Linked DNA regions of Homo sapiens: region 2 is linked to region 1. The links are contacts of gene promoters, found by promoter capture Hi-C in blood cells and fetal thymus (Javierre and others, 2016). All regions are on one chromosome and are shown on one strand. Each heading gives the region's core, a stretch centred on a gene start or on the middle of the fragment in contact. The rest is flanking DNA. Distances are from core to core; before and after follow the strand shown. Region 1 holds the start of SULT4A1 (sulfotransferase family 4A member 1). Region 2 has its middle 26 kb from the start of SCUBE1.

The links. The method cuts DNA at HindIII sites, captures the fragments that hold promoters and counts their contacts. A CHiCAGO score of 5 or more calls a contact.
Region 2: a fragment that was not itself captured here is called in contact with the fragment with the promoter of SULT4A1 in region 1 in 1 of 17 cell types (endothelial precursors); the score reaches 6.3 in endothelial precursors.

The regions. Positions count from the first base shown.
Region 1 is chr22:43,859,466-43,865,902 of GRCh38, reverse strand. It overlaps SULT4A1 (sulfotransferase family 4A member 1), which reads left to right and starts at 3,390. Exons shown (of 7, transcript NM_014351.4): 1 at 3,390-3,689. The coding sequence starts at 3,521. RefSeq lists an enhancer at 5,075-5,574. The HindIII fragment of the contact is 4,757 bases long and covers 1,810-6,437 here.
Region 2 is chr22:43,366,576-43,373,012 of GRCh38, reverse strand. No RefSeq gene overlaps it. Among named protein-coding and RNA genes, the nearest start is that of SCUBE1, 26 kb to the right of the region's middle. RefSeq lists an enhancer at 2,879-3,380. The HindIII fragment of the contact is 4,109 bases long and covers 1,185-5,293 here.

The DNA of each region.
Region 1 (6,437 bases), core at 2,141-4,640:
GAGTGATACGATGTGAGAAAGACTGTGTCTGCCATTTTGAAGATGGAAAGAGACCATGAGCTAGAGAATGTGGGTGGCTTCTAGAAGCTAAAGAAAGCAAGGAAATAGGTTCTCCCCTGGATCCTCCAGAAAGGAATGCTAGCCCTGCTGACACCTTCCTTTTGGTCTAGTGGTACCAGCATCAGACTTCTGACTTACAGAGCTGAGTTTGTGGTAATTCATTATAGCAAAATAGAAAATGACTACATAATGAACATATATCATCACCTACATTCACCAATTGTGGCTTTTCCCACATTTTCTTTCTCGCTCTCAATGTGTATACATACATGTGCTTGCATTAGGGTTATAATTGTGGTTTTATTTTTGTAAAACCATTTGAAAGTAAGTGGCAGACATCATGATTCTTCACCCCCAAATACTTCCACATGTACCTCTGAGGCAAATGGACATTTTTACATAACCACAGTGCAGTTTTCAAATTTAGGAAATTTAAAATAGAATATCATCTAATCTAGAGTCTATATTCAAATATTGCAAATTATCTCATTAATGTCCATTATGGCTTTTTTTTTTCAGACGGAGTCTTTTTCTGTCACCCAGGCTGGAGTGCAGTGGTGCAATCTCAGCCCACTGAAACTTCCATCTCCCAGGTTCAAGCAATCCTCCTGCCTCAGCCTCCTGAGTAGCTGGGATTATGGTGCGTGTCACCACTCCCAGCTAATTTTGACCAGACCTCACTTACAAAACAAACCCAAAGATAAATGCAACAATTTCAAGATAGTGACCACAGACCATTAAATTCCAAAGTGTGGGGCCCTTCTGAGCACAGAACCCTGTGTGACTCCCCTGGTTGCGTATCCGTGAAGCAAGGCCTGCATCTATGTCCATGTCTGTACTTTTATCTATGTCTATATCTTCATGTAACCGCCACTAAGAGCAAGCTATGATGTTTCCAACACTATGGAGGGTAGGTAACCTTGAGTCTGCTCCCAGTCAACCCTCTTTCCAATGCCCCAGGTTAAGACTATTCTCACCTCTATCACTATAGATCAGTTTTGCTTGGTTTTGACTGTATATAAATAGAATCATATGACATACCATTTTTTGTGCTTGACTTAGTTTGTTCATCATTTTGACTGTGACATTCTTCTCAGTTACATTCCTTTTTTAAAAAAATTACTGTATTCCATTGTATGAATATATCGCAATTTATCTATTCTACTGTTGGGTACGTGGGTTTTTTCCCATTTTTGTCTAACATGCTCAAATTGTTTCCGATTTGACCTATGATAATACTTTCATGTTATACCCTGTGTCCTTCTGACCTATTCCCAACATTTTTGAACTTGCAGGAGTTCAAGACTCAACAAGACATTTTAGGCTCATCTTGTACTTTCCTTGCCCTGGAGTTGGCTTTTTCTCCAAGAAACCCCAGGTTCATTTGGTGAGGGAAGTATTTAGCAAAGATCTGGGCAGTGGGTATGCCTAGTATTATTGAGATATCACTGCCTAAAGGCTTTTCCAGCAAATATAAGAAATAGGAATTTTAAAATATCATAAACTCATGTCAATACCTCCAATTCCAATCCAATACCATAGAGTTCTTCCCTGCCTTCTCGCATTCCCCACTTACATTTTCCTTCTCCCACAGTGAGAACCCTCACCTGAAACATCAGGATATTCATTCATTCACTCAATCCCTCTAGCTTTTGGCTAGATGCCCTTTTGCCATTGGCCTAATTATTCTGAATAAAGGCTGGGTGCTCGGAATGTCCTCTTTCTTTTTTGGAAAGACATCTACAAGCTTCCCAAGTCAGGATTAATTGCTGTTTCCTCTCTCTGTCTGCTATGTACACATGGCCTGCGCTTCTCAGCCCATGTGTATGTCTTTGGTGTCAGAATGCACGTGTCTCACTCTACAGTAAGAAGGAGAGAGTAGGAATAGGTCCCGTCCAGCCACTCTGCTCCAGATTCTTGTTGGTGTAAACTCCTTCCATCTTCCTGGCTACACTACTTAGAGGTAGGAATCATTCTTTTCCTTTACACAGCTGATGATGCTCGGCTGCAGAGAATGAGAGCAGGCTGTGTTGTTTTCATCTTTGTGCTTCCCCAGGCATGTTAGTAGGTGCTTCATATATGTCTGTTGAGTGCATGACTGGCAAGGGGTTGCACTGAGATCTCTAGAACTCGGTTGCTCTCAAATTATAGTTTGCACAAGAAGTGCCTTACTAAATGTATATTTTTGTAATTTTTCTCCATAGATCTGGGGTCCTGGAATTTGCAATCCAACACTCCCCTCCCCTACTCATGGGATATTAAGAAGCACTTTTTGGCTGGGCGAGGTGGTTCACACCTGTAATCCCAGCACTTTGGGAGGCCAAGGTGGGCAGATCACGAGGTCAGGAGATTGAGACCATCCTGGCTAACACGATGAAACCCCGTCTCTACTAAAACAAACAAACAAAAAATACAAAAAATTAGCCAGGCATGGTGGCATGTGCCTGTAGTCCCAGCTACTCGGGAGGCTGAGCCAGGAGAATGGCGTAAACCCGGGAGGTGGAGCTTGCAGTGAGCTGAGATCGCGCCCCTGCACTCCAGCCTGGGCGACACAGCGAGACTCCATCTCAAAAAAAAAAAAAAAAAAAAAAAAGCAAAAAAAAAGCACTTTGTTTTTTTGGCTGGACTAGGTGGCCCATACTTTTTTTTTGTTGTTGTTAGAAGATCTCGTCCTGTTGCCCAGACTGGAGTGCAGTGGTGCAAGCTCACAGCTCACTGCTAATTTTTTTTTTTGTATGTTTGTAGAGATGCGGTTTCACCATTTACCCAGGTTGGTCTCGAACTCTTGACCTCAGGAGATCCGCCCGTGCTCGACCTCTCAAAGTGCTGAGATTACAGGCGTGATCCACCGCGCCTGGCGAAGACGCATATTTTTAATAGGACCTAATATTTACCTGAAATTATCTTGGTTATTTACCAATGTAAGCTCCAACAGGGCCAGGCTTCTGCTTGCTTCTACCCTGACGCGTGTCGGGGCCCTGGCCCAGTGCCTGGCACAGATCAGCAGCGCGCTAAGCACGTGTTGAATGGACGACTACCTTTCAGGGCCTTCCAGCCAGGGTATCTCATGCGTCTGTGTTGAGCGCTTGCTGAGTGACAGAAGCTATGAGCGGAATGAACGCACGCACGACTGAGGAGGCTGCAGACCGCGGGCCAGGGTCTCTGTCAGCCCCGGCAGCGGGTGGGTGACCCCGGCCGGGGGCGGGGCGGGGAGGACGCGGCTCCGCGGCGCCATGACGTCACGCCCGTGCAGCGCCGCGGCCGCGTGCCGGGCGGCGCCATGACGTCATACCCGCGGAGCCTCCGCCGCGCGTCGGCGGCGCCATGACGTCACGCCTGCGGAGCTGCCGCCGCGCGCCGGTGGGGCGCGAGCGTGTGCGGGGCGCGGGCGCGGGCGCGGGCGCGGGCGCGTGCGGGCTGCGAGCCGGGAGGCGGCGGCGGCGACGGCGACGGCGGCGGCATGGCGGAGAGCGAGGCCGAGACCCCCAGCACCCCGGGGGAGTTCGAGAGCAAGTACTTCGAGTTCCATGGCGTGCGGCTGCCGCCCTTCTGCCGCGGGAAGATGGAGGAGATCGCCAACTTCCCGGTGCGGCCCAGCGACGTGTGGATCGTCACCTACCCCAAGTCCGGTGAGCCCCGCGCCGACCGCGCCCGCCACGCCATGCCCCAGCCCTGCAGCGCGGCCGCGTAGACGCCGCGCCCGCGCCCGGGGCTTCTGCTGGGCCGGGTGGTCGCCCTTGGCCTCCGCCCCTGCCGTGCCCACCGCTCTCCCGATGCTCGGATCCCTGCGGGGCGGGGTGGGGTGGGGTGGGGGTGGGAAGGGGCTTGGTTCTCATCTGGGGAAACCAAGGTCAGAGACCTTCGGGAGCGGCCCCTTCCGTGGAGATGGAGCCTATTTGGCCGGCGCTGCAGGAGGATGGGCCCAGGGCCGCCACCCATCCCTGCTTCTCCCTTTACCTGGCTGGCTGTGTGACCTTGGACAGGTCACTCAACCTCTCTGTTCCTGAATCCTGCCCAACCTTTGATGAGTGCAAAGTCCTGGTGTTCACCTGGGAAGGGAGATAACATGGGCGTCAGGGCTTTCAGCGTGGAAACGTAACGTCCCTCCTTTCCAGCCTGGGCTCCGGGTGGGGGATGGGACCAGTCCCCGCCTGGAGTGCCTTGCTTGTACATTCTCTTGTTTCAGGGCTGCCTCCATCACCGAGGCAGGACCTGGGGCATTCACATTTCCCAGCATTAGCTGACGTCACTTTCACAATAACAGCTGTGTGAGCTAGTGGTGGTCATTCCCACTTTACAGTCTAGGCACAGAGGCTCAGAGAGGGGAAGAGGCTGGTCCAAGGTCACTCAGCTGGTGAGTGGCTGACCTGGGAATTAAAGCTAGGCTGGTCTGTTTCCAGACCTGAGGTAGGAGATTGTATAGTACCCCATCTGAGGTTTTTAGGGAAAGGAGGTAGCAGCTTTCCTGTTCTGTAAACATGCCCTGGGATTTCCTTGTTGCCACTGTATTTGAGGCAATCACAGCGTGGTTTAGAAGGTGTCTGGCTCTAAGGTCACGCCGGACCAGCAGTCGGGCAGTTTCAGGAAAAGCTGTAGGCTTGGCTGTTGTAGCTGTATGGAGTTCCAGACACCTGAGGGCAGGTCTCTGACATTCTTCTGAGGAAGATTGGAGTAGGGACTCTCAGTGGAGGGTGTTGGTTGGAGAACAGAGCGTTCGATGGGCTGCTATCTTGAGCACATGCCAGTCGCCGCATGGGGTGGGACCTAAAATGCTTTAGGAATGGCTAAGCGTGTCGTTGGCTTCTGTGGCCACTCATTAAGTCCTGCGGGCCAAGTGCTCTATCGCTGTTAATCTGTGAGGGACTCTTACACCTTTTTTTCAGAGGCTCAGAGAAGGCACAAATTGTTCGGAGTCACACAGTTGCTGAGGGACAGAGGTCAGGTCTAGCTAGGTCTCCCGGTCCACGGCCAGCCTCTCCCCTGCCTTATGGGTGCTCCGTTGCCCTTGGAAAACCGTGAGGGCCCAAGAAGGAGGGGGACCTAGCCTTCTTTCTTGGAGGCTTTAAAATGCTGGAAGTCTCAGCCACTTAGGGATTTTGAGGTTTGTGTCACTTCTCTGAGGCCCCTCCAAGTGGACTTCTGGTAGCCCAGTTCATATTTTCTTTTCCTTTCCTTCCATCTGCTACTGGGGATGGATTTGTAGCAGGCATCAGTGCTTACACATTAAGAACCTGGCTTCGGAGTTGGAAGTCCTGGGTTTGAATGCAGTTTTGCGGCTTACCAGCAGAGTGACCCTGGGCAGATCATAGAATCCCATTGAGCTGTGGTCTCTGCGGAGGGAGAAGAGACCACCTCGGCCCGCTGATGTGTGGCTGTGAGGATGAGCAAAATGGCGGGTGAGAACGCTTAGCCCACGTCCAGACACACGCTGGAAAGGCTCGTGGTTAATGCTGACTTTTAAGCCCTGAACACCTGTTGTGCCCAGATGCTTTGCTAGGGGCTGGGGAAGCCGAGAGGGCCCCATCTGGTGCCTGTCCTTAGTGAGCTCTCAGTCTGATGGGGGAGACATGGTTGGTGCTGGGGTTGGGGCAAGTAGCCAGGACTAACAGGTGCCCCATTCACCTGCCATGGCAGGGAACCCACGGGCCTCCTTGGATTTCCAGTGCCCAGGTGTAGGAGATCCTAATGAACTTGCAGGTGGTCAGAGCCGGAAGGGCCTGGTCCCTTGTCAGCCCCTTCCCACCCTCTGCTGATGGAGAAACTGGGGTTCAAAGGGGTGGTGGGGGCTTTCTGGTGGCTAAGGCAATGATAATTAGATCCTGCCTTCGCTTCCTGTCCGGTATTTTTTCCCACAACCCCGTGCTGCTTGCTCGGATTCTTTTTGTGCTTGCGACATTCTAGCTTAGATGGCGGGTTAGGACTGTGCTCTCCAGCGTAGGACCCTCTGCCCACAGGCGGCTGCTTACATCTAATGAATTAAAATGAAATAAAAGTGGAAATTCTGTTCCTCAGTAGCATCACCATGTTTCAGGTGCTCAGTAGCCACATGGGGCTAGCGGCTGCCGTATTGGGTGGCGCAGATATGGAGTGTTCCCATCACAGCTGAAAGTTCTGCTGCACAGCGCCAGGTAAAACCGTGATCCAGACAGTAGGAGCCCATTGTGTCTTCTGAGAAGGACCTTTCTGTTGATGACCGACTTTGTTCCTATTCATTCTTACAGCGTAGTTGGTCCTGGGACGGTGGTTGTATTAAATCCGATTGTGTCTGTGAAAATATTTTGTCCCTGTGTGTTGGTTTGATGCAATCACTGCCACTGGTTTTGTCAACAGGTTGATTTGAATTGGGTGCTCGTCCCCGAGGGGGCACAGCCCCAAAG
Region 2 (6,437 bases), core at 1,990-4,489, 490 kb after region 1:
TTGAAAAAGGTGACCCTCTGCCTTCTTGTTTTGACTCTGATGATGTAAACAAGTGTCCTTTTTGCAGTCTAGTTAGTGTCATGTTTTTCATATTTTTTGTGCTTTTTGTTGATATTTCACTGGATTGTTTTTTGTTTTGGTTTGGTTTTGCTTTTGGCTTTTTTTTTTTTTTTTTTGAAATGGAGTCTCGCTTTATCACCCGGGCTCGAGTGCAATGGCGCGATCTCAGCTCGCTGCAACTTCTGCCTCCCAGGTTCAAGCAATTCTCATGCCTCAGCCTCCCGAGTAGCTGGGATTACAGACATATGTCACTACACTTGACTAATTTTTATATTTTTAGTAGAGACGGGGTTTCACCATGTTGGCCAGGCTGGTCTTGAACTCCTGACCTCATGTGATCCACCCACCTCAGCCTCCCAAAGTGCTGGGATTACAGGCATGAGCTACTGTGCCTGGCCTGGATTTTTTGGTTGTTGTTGTTTTGTTTTGTTTTGTTTGAGACAGCGTCTCACTCTGTCACCCAGGCTGGAATGCAGCGGCGTGATCTCCACTCACTGTAACCTCCGCCTCCCAGGTTCAAGCAATTCTCTTGCCTCAGCCTCCCTAGTAGCTGGAGTTGCAGGCAAGCGCCACCACACCTGGCTAGTTTTTGTATTTTTAGTAGAGATGAGGGTTTCACCATATTGGCCAGGCTGGTCTTGAGCCACCGTGCCCAGCTGATTTCACTGTTTTAAATGACCCCCACCCCCAAGCGCAGTGCTGAAGGGCTGTTGATATGGTTTGGCTGTGTCCCCACCGAAATCTCATCTTGAATTCCCACGTGTTGTGGGAGGGGCCCAGTAGGAGGTAATTGAATCATGGGGGTAGGTCTTTCCCGTGCTGTTCTGGTGATAGTGAGTCTCACGAGATCTTATGGTTATTATAAGCGGAATTTTCCTTTCCTCTTTGTCTGCGACCATCCACGTGAGATGGGACTTGCTCCTCCATGCCTTCTACCATGATTATGAGGCCTCCCCAGCCACATGGAACTGTAAATCCAGTTAAACCTCTTTCTGTTGTAAATTGCCCAGTCTCAGGTAAGTCTTTATCAGCAGCATGAAAATGGACTAATACAGCTGTCTAGTGTTCCTAAGTGCAGGAAGTCTGGGGTATGCCTTACAGGGAAAGCCCACGTTAGAGAAGCTTCGTTCAGGCAGGAGTTAGAGTGCTGTTGGCCATGAGCTCAGTGTTAATGAGTCAACAATATATATTAAATAGGGTATCTTTAAACAGAAATATATATAAAACAAAGTTATGTGTTGATCAGTTGGTGACAACACTGTGACCCCAGACTCATAGGAATGGAACCCTGTATTTCCCTCTTGGAGCATTGGCTTAGTGTTGGGTAATTCAGCATTTTTGGTGACTTTATAGACCGTAACTGGTGTGAATAATGAGAATAGACTGCTTTCCTTACATGCTTTCTCTGAAGATTACTAGAGAAGATACTTCACTAGAATAAGGGCTAAATCAAGAAAGAGGAAAATATGGGATATGGGAAAAAGAGAAAGGCAAGGGGGATCCCAGGTTGCTGGAGGCGGGATGCCCTATAGGCATGGGGCACCAGGCTCCAGCTTCCCTGGGCAGATGGGCGTGAAGACCCCAGTGCATCTCGAAGCCCTGCGAGGAAAGGGCAGGACTGAACTAGCAACAATTGTCTAGAGAACGATGCAAAGGAGAAACCACGAAAATGATTTGCTGGGGTCGGGGTAGGGAGTGCGACTGTGCGGAAAAGGTTGACAAAGAGGACAGTCATTTATTTGCTGCTGGAAGCCATTTACATGAATTGACTCATTGAAAGCAAGGCCAGGTAGAAGGCAATCAACCAAGAGGCTGAAGAATTTGTCCAGGATCACACAGCTAAGTGGCAGAAGGAGGACTAGAACCCGGAAAAGTGGCTTAGAACTCCATGCCCTTCACCACTGACAATGCTGGTGTCCTAAAAACAGGTCTGAGGGTGGGGGGCAGGTGCGCACAGTGAGTAGGGGTCAGGAGGCAGCGATATCCTCACCTTCCAGAAACAGAGGTCAACCAATGAGGCTGACAACTAAAAAAAAAAAAAATCAAGATGGAGTCTCAGAGGCCAGGCAGAGTGGCTCATGCCTGTAATCCCAGCACTTTGGGAGGCTGAGGCAGGCAGATCACCTGAGGTCAGGAGTTCAAGACCAGCCTGAGCAACATGGCAAAACCCCACCTGTACTAAAAATACAAAAATCAGCCAGGTGTGGTGGCGGGCGCCTGTAATCCCAGCTACTCAAGAGGCTGAGGCAGGAAAATCACTTGAACCCAGGAGGAAGAGATTACAATAAGCCGAGATCATGCCACTGCACTCCAGTCTGGGCGACAGAGCAAAGACTCCGTCACAAAAAAAAAAAAAAAAAGATGCAGTCTCAGAGGCAAATGACACAGGGTAAAAACAAAATAATTGGTTAAAGGAGGTGAAATAGTTGCCTCTGGGGAGGGGACAGGAGGGGGTGAAGGACAGGAACAGGGAACTGCTGTTCCTCTTAACAAACCTTGTAGAGCTATTTGCCTGTATAAGTTTCATGAAAATAAAAGCTAAAAATAAAGAGAAGAAATAAACACTGTTCCCGGATCCTAGACAGAGCCTGCAAGCCAGGGCTGCCAGGTGAGGCCCCGGGGACGGGGTAGCCATGGCTTTTCCTGTTTGCCCTGGAGACTTTGTCTTTGACTTGGGAGACACCCTCTGGCCCTCCAACACCAAGCACGGTGGTTGGGGGTTGGGGGTGGTTCCCCGTGTGAGTTACGGCCCCAGATTGGTTGACGATCCCAGCAGGGAGGGAATCGCCTGCCTGTGGAAGACCCCAGCTGCACCAATCTTCCTGCTCATTCAGGGGCTGCTGGGCTTGACCTATCGATGTCAGTTGCAAATGAGGGGTCCTCCCACAGCTGCTCAGCCAGCCCCTCATCTGAGACCCGTGCTCCAAAAAAGAAGCTGGGGCGGCAGAGGGCTGTCACCTCACACGCTAATGACATGGGCACGGACATAAGAGGCCCCCAAGAGACACACCAAGCACCTGAGGTCACAGAGACAAAGTAGAATCCACAGAGCAGTGGTGCCCCAGGGAGGCAGGAGACCCTCATCCCATCTCCAATCCCACCCTGGTCCCCACTCCCCAGTCCAGATGGGACTCCCTGCCTCTTTCCCAGATGTCCCCCACACTGACTCACTGTGGGCGGCAGCTTTTACGTAAGAGGGCCAAGTGATGGCCCCCACAACAGATCATCTGAGGCTGAGTATTAGACACCACTGCATATCCACCACGCCCCTCTTTTTCTCTTCCTGTCAAACTCAGTAATGGAGACAACCTCCTTCCTCTGGGAGTTTCAGATGCAGAGGCAAACTTTTCCCTCTCACAGCTATGATAACGGTGTCGTCTCATCTGGCCCTTAGCAATTTTTGAACCCCAGCACATCCAGCTAGTGGAATTAATACTTCTCAGGGTTCCTTCGAGGGCCAAATGAATCATGCAGGCTGGGGTATTTTGGGAAATAAAAGGGTGAGAAATCCAAAGAATATTTTGAGAAATGTGCGCAATCAGCCCTCTCAGATGTTCAAATAGATGATTAAGTCTCTGATTAAACAGCAGAGCTGGCATGAATGGAACTGACCAGAGAGCAGAGAAATGTTCTCATGTACATGAATTTAATACATGACCAAGCTGTCTTCAGTGGGCAAAGAACAATGGAAGGAGTAGCCAATATAAAAGCAGCTTGGGGGTCGGGCGCAGTGGCTCACACCTGTAATCCCACCACTTTGGGAGGCCGAGGCAGGTGGATCACCTGAGGTCAGGTGTTCAAGACCAGCCTGACCAACATGCAGAAACCCCGTCTCTACTAAAAATACAAAATTAGCCAGGCGTGGTGGTGCATGCCTGCAATTCCAGCTACTTGGGAGGCTGAGGCAGGAGAATCGCTTGAACCGGGGAGGCGGAGGTTGCAGTGAGCCAAGATCACACCATTGCACTCAGCCTAGGCAAAAAGAACAGAACTCCATCTCAAAAAAAAAAAAAAATCAGCTTGGATGCCTTCTTCATATCTTTCACAGATGCTGAAAAAAATAAATTATTTATCAAGCAAAGCAAACCCTAGGAGGGCTGGTCAAAAATATAAGTGAATATTAACCAGATCTCAGGAGGAATGGGAAGTCTTCGAGCTTTAAAATCATTAAGGAGATTTTTTTTTTGAGGAGAAGCAAAAGTGATTGACGACTATATAAAAACAAAAAACAAATCTCCCATACCACAGAATAAAAAACTAATGGGGGTAGAGGGGAACTAAATTGACAACCAAATGAATGGCAAAGGGTTAATATCAATAATCTGTGAAAACACTACACTGGCTGGTAAGAAAAGCCTTAAACCAACAGGGTTTTTATTTTCTTTTATTTTTTGGAACTTGACGAAATGATACCAAATTTCATCTGGAAAAATAAACGTGCGAGACCAGCCAGGGAAATTCTGAGGAAAAACAAAAGTAGTGGAGGAGGGCTGGCTTTACCAGATGTTAAAACATCTTAGGAAAGTACAATAACTTTTAAAGTTTAGCCCTGGAAAAGAAGTAGACAGTTCCATCCAGACGCGAGTGCAGAAATGGATGGAAATATGTAGGATTTCAGCACGTGAATGAGAGAAGGAATTTCACATCGGAGGGGAAAGGTGCATTGTTCAAAGTAAGGCATAGAGATAAGTGGGTAGCGGCCATCTGGAAAAAATAAAACAGAATCCCTACCTCACCCCCTACACCCAGATCAGTTCCACATGGGTCCAAAATTTAAACCAAAAAATTGAACCTTAAAAATTCTAAAAGAAACATAGGTGAACTTACAATCTTTGGAAAGGAAAGATCTTTATAGGCAGGATACAGAACACAGAAGCCACAATAAAATTCATTTGGGGAAATCAATGGGTGAGAAGTCCCAAGAATATTTTGAAAAAGATGGGGAATAAGCCCTCTCTGATATTAAAATACATGATTAATGGGGAGATGAGAAACAGGCTTTCCTCCATAAAACAGTTCAATACGTGATAATGGTGTCTTCTCTGGACAATGAACAATGGGAAGAACATTCAGACTGTGAAGTTGGGACATCATGAAAAGAAACATAAGTTTAAGTCCATTTTCCACATATACTAAAGAATAAATTATTTATAAAGCAAATCAAATCTTAGGCTGGCCAAAACAATAAAGGAATATTGAACCGGACTCTAAAGGAATGAGAACCTTGCAAGCTTTAAATGATTGAGGAAATCATGAAGGAAAAGGAGAACTGATTCAACTATTTAGAAAAGACCTTCTATATCAAAAAATCAAAGTGCAACAATTTTGACTACGTAACATTTTTTCATTTCTAGGTGAATAAAAAAGGTATATACCAAGTCAAGACAGAGCTGAACAGGGACTGACATTCACAGAATTAATTGCTTTAATTTAGAACATGTTTATACAAGTAAATGAAAGAAAGACTTAAAACCTAACAGATAATTGACAAAATCTGAATATGAAAAAGCAACTCCCAGAAAAACAAATTCAAGTAAATGGTAGCCATATGAAAAATGTTCAAGCTCACTCATCATCAAGAAACAATACAATGCCCTTTGGGGATAGGTTAAAAACCTATCCAATTGGCCAAGATTTGTAAGTTTGAAAATACCCCAAATATATGGAAAAATAGCCATTCTCAAACACTGTAGTGGGAGTATGAATTGGTCTATTCCACTCCTTTTAATGGCTGTATAATACTTCATGTGTGGATGTAGCAACATTTATTCAACCAGTCCCTGTTTATGGACATTTAGGGTTTTTTTCCTCCCAGTTTAGAATGAAAAGTGGTACCATGATGAACATCCTTGTACACACATCTTTGCATCCATGTGTAAACACATTTGTAGTAGAAATTCTTGGCAATGGAACTTCGCAGTAAATGCTGGTTTGCTATGAAAATTTTGAAAGATGTTTCCAAACTGCCTCCCGTAGGGTTACAGTCGTTTATACTCTGACCAATTGTATGTGAGCTGTGTTCCTATACCTTCTCCAGCAGCAAAAATTATAGCATTAATATTGTTTTGTTTTCATTGTTAAGTATATTTTTTAAAAGGGCAGTGGGGGCCAGGTGCGGTGGCTCACGCCTGTAATCCCAGCACTTTGGGAGGCCAAGGCGGGCGGATCACGAGGTCAGGAGATCGAGACCATCCTGGCTAACACTGTGAAACCCCATCTCTACTAAAAATACAAAAAATTAGCCAGGCGTGGTGGCAGGCGCCTGTAGTCCCAGCTACCGGGAGGCTGAGGCAGGAGAATGGCATGAACCCAGGAGGCGGAGCTTGCAGTGAGCCACGATCACACCACTGCACTCCAGCCTGGGGGACACAGTGAGA